2 separate regions of the Homo sapiens genome follow, and region 2 is linked to region 1. The links are contacts of gene promoters, found by promoter capture Hi-C in human tissues and cell types (Jung and others, 2019). All regions are on one chromosome and are shown on one strand. The core of a region is centred on a gene start or on the middle of the fragment in contact, and the rest is flanking DNA. Distances in the headings are between cores, read along the strand shown. Region 1 holds the start of GRHL3 (grainyhead like transcription factor 3). Region 2 has its middle 15 kb from the start of MIR378F.

What was found. Contacts are between HindIII fragments. The study calls those that stand out against the background at their distance.
Region 2: a contact is called between a fragment that was not itself captured here and the fragment with the promoter of GRHL3 in region 1, in 1 of the 25 tissues and cell types used here (mesenchymal stem cells).

The regions. Positions count from the first base shown.
Region 1 is chr1:24,317,353-24,322,000 of GRCh38, reverse strand. GRHL3 (grainyhead like transcription factor 3) reads right to left here and starts at 2,644. Exons shown (of 16, transcript NM_198173.3): 1 at 2,433-2,644. The coding sequence starts at 2,449. It overlaps GRHL3-AS1 (GRHL3 antisense RNA 1), which reads left to right and starts at 10. Exons shown (of 2, transcript NR_183722.1): 1 at 10-335. RefSeq lists a silencer at 1-111. The HindIII fragment of the contact is 14,571 bases long and covers 1-4,142 here.
Region 2 is chr1:23,941,584-23,946,491 of GRCh38, reverse strand. No RefSeq gene overlaps it. Among named protein-coding and RNA genes, the nearest start is that of MIR378F, 15 kb to the right of the region's middle. The HindIII fragment of the contact is 8,780 bases long and covers 1-4,908 here.

The DNA of each region.
Region 1 (4,648 bases), core at 1,395-3,894:
GCTCGCGGGCGCCGGCTGTTTTCCTGCGAGACCCAGGCGGTCGGCGGCGACTTCCGGCGCCCTCGGCCGCAGCCCAGGATCCCTTGCGCCCTGCGGTAGCCCGGGGCTGCCCAGGGCTGCGGGCTCCAGGCACCCAGAGCGCTGCGACCACATGAAAGGCCCGGCGCTCAGCACCCGCCAGCCACCTCCAGCTGGTTTCTAACTACACCGCCGGGGCCTCCATGCTTCTCAGAGACCAGCCTTCGAAGTGCCGCCTTACACCCGGGGCCTGGCCACCGGGCGGGCGCGGATGGAGCTCTGGTCCACATTTGGGAGCTCACAGTTGTTCCTGCCAGGTAGGTGTTACAGACAGATGAGCAGACTGAGGGTCAGGGAGGACAAACAAATTCACCAGGATCCTGCTGTTGGTAAGTGGCAGAATTTAGAGTGACAGGCAAGTCCCACTTTTGCCACTATATCAAGGCCTGGCCAGAGTTGGCCATTCCATGAGGGCCCAAGCTGTAAGCTATGGCCAGTCCTCTTAACTTGGCACTTTTTAGGAGAATGTCGAGGCCGCAGAAGCAACAGCAGCTCAGAACTTGCAAGCCAAGCGCCGGGTGCCCTCCCCTTACCAGTAGGGGCAGCTGAGCCCCCAGGCTCTGCCACTGTAATCTCAAATGGTGGCTTGGAGTCCGCCTGCAATTACTCAGCAGGCAACTGGCTTCCCTCACCCCACCCCAAACTGAGAAGCCTCAACTGTCAGCGGATCTGACTTCAAATCCAAACCATTAGGGAGGAGAAAAGCAAGAAACCTTTCTGTTCAAGTAACCCAGCTTCAGAACACATACCCCCTAACGTGCAGTAATGAATAGATTCTGTCTGTAGCCTCCGCAGTTTTAGCCAGCAAATTTAAGTGGGATGGAGACACATGTCAAGATTTTTTTGCGCGTTCAAAGTATGGAAAAATAGCAAGAGGTTTGGGAATGCTCATTGATTGGTTAGTTCTACATGAAATGACAATGGTGTTACTGGTGTGTTCTCCACCAGCCTTAAAAGCAATCACTATTCTAAAATTGTCAAATCCTCTAACAACCCCATGAGGTGGATACTACTGTTGGCCACTATTTACAGATGAGGATTAAGGGACTTGCTCAACATCACACAGCTATAAGTGCTAGAGCTGGGACTTGAACCCAGGTGTCAGTACCAATGCTCCTGCTCTTATTCTCATTGCGGTCCAATTGTCAATACATTGTCAACCCCGGGAAATTCATTCAAAAGAAATGTGCCTGTTAACCCAAGTGATTGTGCTGTGAACATGAAGAGCTGAAGGGCTAGCTAGAACATAGAATCCGGTCTGCAGTCAGGACCTAGCACTGCTGTCTGCCCACAGATCTTCAAGTTCTTAAAAGTCTGTTGAGGAGCAGTTAGAAAAAAGATGGTACAATCCTTGCCTCTGCCCACTCACCTCTGAGGGTGGCAGGAAAAGGAGAGCCTGTGTTTAAAGGATTCTGGCTTCTCCTGCCAGCTCCCTGAACCCAATCTAAAGCAGCCCAGATCCCAGCCTCACCCTACCTTCTCTAAGGTCTGGACCCCAAGAAGGACATCATGGTGAAGATCAGCATCAGTCAGTCAGGATCTTAAATCTCAGATGTGGGCAGGAAGGCACATGCATCCTCCCAGCCAAAAGAGGTGACCTACCAAAAATCACTTCTCATCTTCCCCAGCCTTAGAACTGCCTCTGAATGAGAGGAACCACATTTTACTGAACGCATCTTCAGACCATAGCTTTATGCTAAGCATTTTACAGCATTTATCACACTTAACTCTTTCCAGAATTCTACAAAGCATTCTTGTACCCATTTTCCAGATGAGGAAAATGAAGCCCAGAAAAATTGAATGTCTTGTCTGAGATCACCCAGGGACAGAGCCTGGATTTGAACTTAGGTCAAGCCCACTACAAAGAGTACACATGCTTAACCACCACACTGTAACCTTCCCACTTGGGACTGTTCCAACCCAGCAAACAAGTCCCTTTAGAGAAACCCAACTCTCTGCCTAAGACAGCTCTTAGAACTACCTTAAAGAAGTTCCTTTTGGCAAGAAGATAGAAAGCCTCGATGGGATTGGGGTCGTCTGATTTCCAAGGCCCCTTCAGAGGATCAAAAAGTGGTGCCAGAAACCTTCACAGTTTCAGTCTTGTGTTTCCCTGCCTGGCTCGAAACTGCTCAGCAAAGAGAATGAGAAAAACTATTTTCCCAGGGAAACACTCACCTCTAGCTTGAGACTGGGGCTTGCCTTGACACGCCAAAGTAAGATCGTCAGCCCATTCATTTACCCTTACAAATTGCTCTGTGAATCCCGGTGCCGGCCTCCCCGCTCTTCCCCCTCCAGGAAACCCCATCCAGCCTCCACGCTCTGAGAGCGGCAGGTATCCACCGATGTTTACTCACTCAAGTTCATTCGACATCTTCCTGCTCCCAAGCTCCGACGATCAGCACTGAGGCTCTGCTGACCGCTTGTCTCTAATTCTTGCCTGACACAGACATTCTCTGCCCGGGAAAGTGTTTGATTTATGTTGAGGTTTGGGTGTCGAGATTTTGCTGACAGGTAGGTTCCCAGCAGCGCTGGCGCTGATTGGCTACAGGTACAGGTGCCGGCGACTGGAGGTATACCTCAACAGGTGCAGCTGTTAACTCTTAGCCCGCCGAGGAGGGCGGAGCTATGGGGGACTGGCTGGGTGGAGCTGGCCAATTCCTTCCTTGGTGAGGGGGTGGGGGGTGGAGATGAGGGAGGAGGGATGGAGAAGAAAATGTTGGAAAGAAGCAAGATAACTAGAGGAAAAGTACAGGGACAAACAGATAACTTGGCTTAAAGGAAAACTTGATTCCTGTTTCTAGTCATTGTCCCAGATACCCAGAAACATCCCCACCCCCAAATTTCTTTGCCCCCTCCTTCTGTACCACTGGGGAATTCTCAAAGGAGAGAGCAACTTTTCCCAGGTAGATCTTTGTATAAGTTCCCTTTTTTTCAGTTTCCCCTTTAAGGTAATATTTTTGAATAATCTTTTGCAGTTACTCAAGTGACTTCTTTTGGTTCTTAAAGTAACCTACCGTGGTAGATTTATTATCGCTTCCCCCTTCCTCTTCAACACATATTTTACAGATGAGGGAGGAAATGGAGGCCAGAGAGGCAAAGTGCCTTGCCCAAGGGCACAGCTAGCGAGGTCCCAGCCCAGATCCAATCTGCAGTCATCTCACTCCAAGTCTGGCTGCCCCTTGGGCTGAAGTCAGTGGCCTCAATTCAGTAGACATTCATTGAGCACCCGTTGTGTGCCAGACCCTACTCTGGGTTCTGGAGAAACTGAGGCCAGAAAAAACAGGGGTTACTGTTCTAAAGGAGTTTACAATCTGGGGGGTGTGTGTTGGTGGCAGGGGGTGGGGGAGTAAAGGAGAACAGGCTTTTATTGGGTGTGAAGGGGGTGTGGGCAAGCCACATACCTCTGGTCAGCACAGAAGGGATAGAAAAGTTGAAGGCTCCTCTGAAGCCTCAGCCAGCTGGTCATTTCACAGGCTCCAAGTGCTTCGTTCTGTATTGGGAACTTGGGAGAAATTCAATGCCTGTCAGATGAAGTAATTGTGGAGTAATTGCTGTGAGCTGTCTACTATAAAGAACAAGCTTGGTAAACCCCAGAATATCCACAAACACAAACAGGAGAATGTAAGAGCTTTTTAAAGAGCTTCTTCCAGGATTAGTTTGAAATTAAATCTAAGCCAGAGATCTTGGCATCTTTTTTTCCCTCTCTCTCTTTCTATTCTCCCCTCCCCCACCCTTCCCCTTTTGGCAAATTATCTCTTTGCTGTGTCTTCCTGGAAACCTCAACTTGGCCCACTCCTCTCTCTCTTCTCTGGGAACGGCAAGTGAGGTTTCAGCTACCCCTGCCAATTTATGGAGGTTTTTCAGGGTAAAGTCAGAATTCAAAGGAGCCCTCTTGGGGTGGGGTCAGGGCTCTGGAGAGGGGGTACTGGGTTTGAGAACTCTCAGAGATTGGTTTCTCCCTGGAGGCTGTGTTGGGGGAAGCCCAGGGGACCCTAATAAATAATAGTAAATAATTGCTAATAAAGCCACCTCCTCAGAGCAGCCCTCTTCAGTCACCCTTGTTAATAAAGTAGACATTCAATCACTCTGGATCACACTACTTTTTGTTCTCTGCAGAGCCCTTATGACTTATGATACAATGTAATATGACCTATGATATTTTTCTAATCGTTTATTGTCTTTCTCCCCTTCCTCTGGAATGTAAATTCCATAAGAGCAAAGACTTTGTGTCGCTCACTGTGGAATCTCCAGTGTCTGGCACCTAGTAGGTGCTTCATATACCACAGGCACCGGGCATTGTGCGCCTTTGCATACATTGTGTCGCCTAATCCTTACAGCAACCCTGGGAGATAGACATTTTTGATACCCCCATTTTATAGATGAGGAAACTGAGGTACAGAATACTGAAGTAAACTACTCAAGCTGCAGAGCTAGGCAGTGGTAGAGCTAGAGCTGGGATTTAATCCGAGAGCAGAGCCTGGGTGCCCAACCACTTCACAGAGCTTATTGGTGGCTGAAGGGCTATTTGGTGCCAACTGTAACTGCAAAGCTTATTGCAGTCCAAAGGATG
Region 2 (4,908 bases), core at 836-3,335, 370 kb after region 1:
AGGAGTTAACCAAGGTGAGAGACTTATACCATGAGAAATAAAAAACATTACTGAAAGAAATCAAAGACATAGGTAAGTGGAAAGACATCATAGATTAGAGAAGACTTAATATTGTTAAGATGTCAATACTATTCAAAACATTCTATAGATTCAATGCAATCCCTATCAAAATCCCAACATTTTTTACAGAAATAGAAAAATCCACCCTAAAATTCATAAGGAATTTCAAGAGACCTTGAATAGCCAAATCAACCTTTAAAAAGAAGACCAAAATTGGACATCCCACATTTCCTGATTTCAAAACTCACTACAAAGCTACAGTAATTAAAATAGTATGGTACTGGCATAAAGACAGACATATAGACCAATAGCACAGAATAAAGAGCCCAGAAATAAGCCCTCACATACATGGTATAATAATTTTTGTCAAAGATGCCAAAATCATTCAATGGAGAAAGGACAATCTTTTCAACAAATGGGGCTAGGAAAACTGGATGTAAAATACCAAAGAATGAAGTTAGACCCTTACCTAACATCATATGTGAAAATTAACTCAAAATGGATCAAAGACCTAAATGTAAGAGATAAAACTATAAAACTTAAAAGAAAACATAGGGCAAAAGCTTCATGACATTGGATTTGGCAATAATTTCTTGGATTATAGCACCAAAGGCACAGGTAACAAAAGAAAAAATGGACAAATGGGACTACATGAAAATCAAAAACTTTTGTGCATCAAAGAACACTATCAGCCGGGCAAAGTGGCTCACGCCTGTAATCCCGCACTTTGGGAGAACAAGGCAGACGGATCATGAGGTCAGGAGTCCGAGACCAGCCTTGCCAACATAATGAAACCGCATCTCTACTAAAAATACAAAAATTGGCCGGGCATTGTGGCACAAACCTGTAGTCCCAGATACTTGGGAGGCTGAGGCAGGAGAATCGCTTGAATCCGGGAGGCAGAGGTTGTAGTGAGCCAAGATCACACCACTGCACTCCAGCTTGGGCAACTGAGTGAGACTTTGTCTCAAAAAAAAAAAGGACATTATCAAACAGAGGGAAGAGGAAAATTATGGAATGAGAGAAAACATTTGCAAATCATATATCTGATAAGGGAGTAATATCCAGAATTTATAAATAGCTCCTAAAACTCAACAAAAGAAATAAACTAATTCAAAAATGGGCAAAGAGCTGGGTGTAGTGGCTTATGCCTGTAATCCCAGCACTTTGGGAGGCTGAGATAGAAGGATCACTTAAACCTAGGAGTTCAAGACCAGCCCTGGCAACGCAGTGAGAACCCCATCTCTATAAAAAAATTAAAAGTTAGCTAGATGTGGTATGCATGCCTGTATTCCCAACTACTTGAGAGGCTGACATGGGAGGATCGCTTGAGCCCAGGAGTTCAAGGTTGCGGTGAGCTATTATCATTGCGCTGCACTCCAGCCAGGGTGAAAAAGCAAGACTCTGTCTCTTTAAAAAAAATAAAGAAAAGTGCAAAGGGCTTGAATGGACGTTTATCCAAAGAAGATATACAAATGCCAATAAGCACATGAAAAGATGCTCAATAACACTAATCATGAGGGAAATGTAAATCAAAACCACAATGAGGTACCACCCAACACCCATTAGGATGCTACTATCCAAAACAAAAAACAGAAAATAACAAGTATCGGCAAGGATGTGGAAAAATTGCAATTTCTGTGCAGTATTGGTGGGGATGTAAATTGGTACGATTGCTGTGGAAAATAGTATGGCAGTTCCTCAAAAACTTAAAAACAGAATTACCATATGAGCTAGCGATTCCACTTCTGGGTATGGAATCGGAAAACAGGGTCTCAGATAATTGCATACCCATGTTCAAAGCATTATTCACAATAGCTAAAGCATGGAAGCAACCCAAGTGTCCATCCATGGATGAATGGATAAGCAAAATGTATAATATACTTACAATGGAGTATTATTCAGTCTTAAAAAGTTAGGAAATCTTGACACATGATACAACATAAATGAACCTTAAGGACATTATGCTAAGTGAAATAAGCCAATTACAAATGACAAATACTGTATGATTCCACTTACATGAGGTTTCTTGAGTAGTCAAATTTAAAGAGACAGAAAGTAGAACTTCAGTGGTTGCAGGGGCTGAGAGGAGAGGAAATGAGGAGTTATTATTTAATGGGTACAGAATTTCAGTTTTGCAGGATAAAAAGAGTCCTGGAGATGGATGGTGATGATGGTTGCACAAGAATACGAATGTACTTAATTTCATTAAACTGTACATTTATAAATGGTTAAGTTGGTAAATTTTACGTTATGTGTATTTACAAATGAGGAAGAAGAAGAAGTAGGCCGAGAGTGGTGGCTCACACTTGTAATCCCAGAACATTGGGAGCCTGAGGCAAGAGGATTGCTTGAGTCCAGGAGTTCAAGACCAGCCTGGGCAACATAGTCAAACCCTGTCTTTACAAAAAATAAAAAATTAGCCAGGCGGCCGGGCTCAGTGGCTCACACCTGCAATCCCAGCACTTTGTGAGGCCGAGGGTGGGGGGGTAGATCACCTAAGGTCGGGAGTTCGAGACCAGCCTGACCGACGTGGAGAAACCCAATCTCTACTAAAAATACAAAATTAGCCAGGCATGGTGGCTCATGCCTGTAATCTCAGCTACTCAGGAGGCTGAGGCAGGAGAATCACTTGAACCCAGGAGGTAGAGGTTGCCATGAGCCGAGGTCACACTATTGCACTCCAGCCTGGGCCACAAGAACAAAACTCCGTCTAAAAAAAAAAAAATTTAGCCAAGCATGGTGGTGCACACCTATAGTCCTAGCTACTCAGGAGGCTGAGATGGGAAATTCACTTGAGCCTGGGAGGTTGAGGCTGCCGTGAGCTCTGATGGTGCCACTGCACTTCAGCCTGAGCAACAGAGCAAGACCCTGTCTAAAAAAAAAAAAAGAAGAAGTAAAAAAAGTAAAATAAAGGTATTTCTTTATACCATGGATTTTGTTTCAACATAGTCATTTGTCTAAATATTTAAATAAGAAAGCTAATATTTAAAATAATAAAAGATGTTCTATCTTTCTACCTTGACAAATTTACATTCACAACTAAATTAACCCCAACCTTTTATGTCATTTGGATGCAGTTGCCTTTTGTTTCGAGGTCATGGAGCAAAAGATGTGCAGAAGCATTTCCCTGGGGTGTGAACAGTGTTAGTCCTAAGAATGGCTGTCAAGCGTTACAGGTTGTGTGGTGCCAGCACTGAGTAGCAGACATGCCCATATGTTCTTGTCATGTGCAGTAACCCGTGTAGCCACACAGTCCTTTGACCCCTATGAACCCGTGGCTGGAAGATTTCAGTTTATTTAGACTTGCAAGTTTCTTTCTTTATTTTTTTCTTTTTTCCAGACAGAGTCTCACTCTGTCACCCAGGCTGGAGTGCAGTGACATGATCTTGGCTCACTGCAACCTCCGCCTTCAGGGTTCAAGCGATTCTTCTGCCTCAGCCTCCTGAGTAGCTGGAATTACGGGCGTGAGCCACCAAGCCCAGCTAATTTTTTATTTATTTTATTTTTTTTTATTTTTAGTGGAGACGGGTTTTCACCATGTTGACCAGGCTGATCTTGAACTCCTGACCTCAGGTGATCTGCCCGCCTTGGCCTCCCAAAGTGCTGGGATTTACAGGTGTGAGCCACCGCACCCAGCTAGACTAGGAACTTTCATTCTTGTGTTCATTTATTTCAAGATAGAATGATAATTGTCTGTGTCATTAACAGTTATTGTTTGTAATTTGATTCTAATATTTCCTTTTCTTTTTTTTTTTTTTTTGAGATGGAGTTTCACTCTTTTTGCCCATGCTAGAGTGCAATGGCTCAATCTCGTCTCACCACAACCTCTGCCTCCCAGGTTCAAGCGATTCTCCTGCCTTAGCCTCCCAAGTAGCTGGGATTACAGGCATGCACCACCATGCCCGGCTAATTTTGTATTTTTAGTAGAGGCAGGGTTTCTCCATGTTGGTCAGGGTGGTCTTGAACTCCCAACCTGAGGTGATCCGCCCGCCTCGGCCTCCCAAAGTGCTGGGATTACAGGCGTTAGCCACCGTGCCCTGACTAATATTTCACTTTTATCTTATTTAATAAATTAATTTGATGTATGCTTGTGACATGGGGTTCTCTAACCCCAGAGCAAGGGGTTGTGGAGCCCAGAGCAAGGGCCTCTCTTGCCTGATCTCAGGGGTAATATATTTGCTTGTATGTCCTTAAAATCTAATATAATGAAATGTAGATCAACTATGGTATCTAATAGTTCTGTGACAGCTATCTCCACTAGAAGGATCCTGGAGCAGGCATTGACCACATACAAGGACCACAATTGCCACCAAATACTGTGGCTCAGGGTTCTCCTTTTGGCAGCCCTTATCTGGTAAGACCCTGGCAAAGTTGACACTTCAAGCCCTCCCTTCTTCCTTCCTTTTCAAGGATCTGGACGCATAAGAGTTACAGGCTCTATACACAGGGACTTTCCTTCCTGGAAACCCGGTAGGAAATCCCATTATGGCTGCCTGTTTGCCAAACTATTCCCTTGACTGACAGGATGCAGCCTATTCAAACTTCTCTGTGTCTGTTGAAAAAATGCATGTATAAAAAAGGCATGGCCTCACGTAATTAATTAGGCATCTGTAAGGGAGAGAAGATGATCTTTCCCTTACGCATCGCAGGATTCACGGCTGAGAGCCCATAAGAAAGAACAGATAGGCCAGGCACGGTGGCTCACGCCTGTAATCCCAGCACTTTGGGAGGCCAAGACGGGTGGATCATGAGGTCAAGAGTTCAAGATCAGCCTGGCCAAGATGGTGAAACCCCGTCTCTACTGAAAATACAAAAATTAGCCGGGTGCGGTGGAAGGCACCTGTA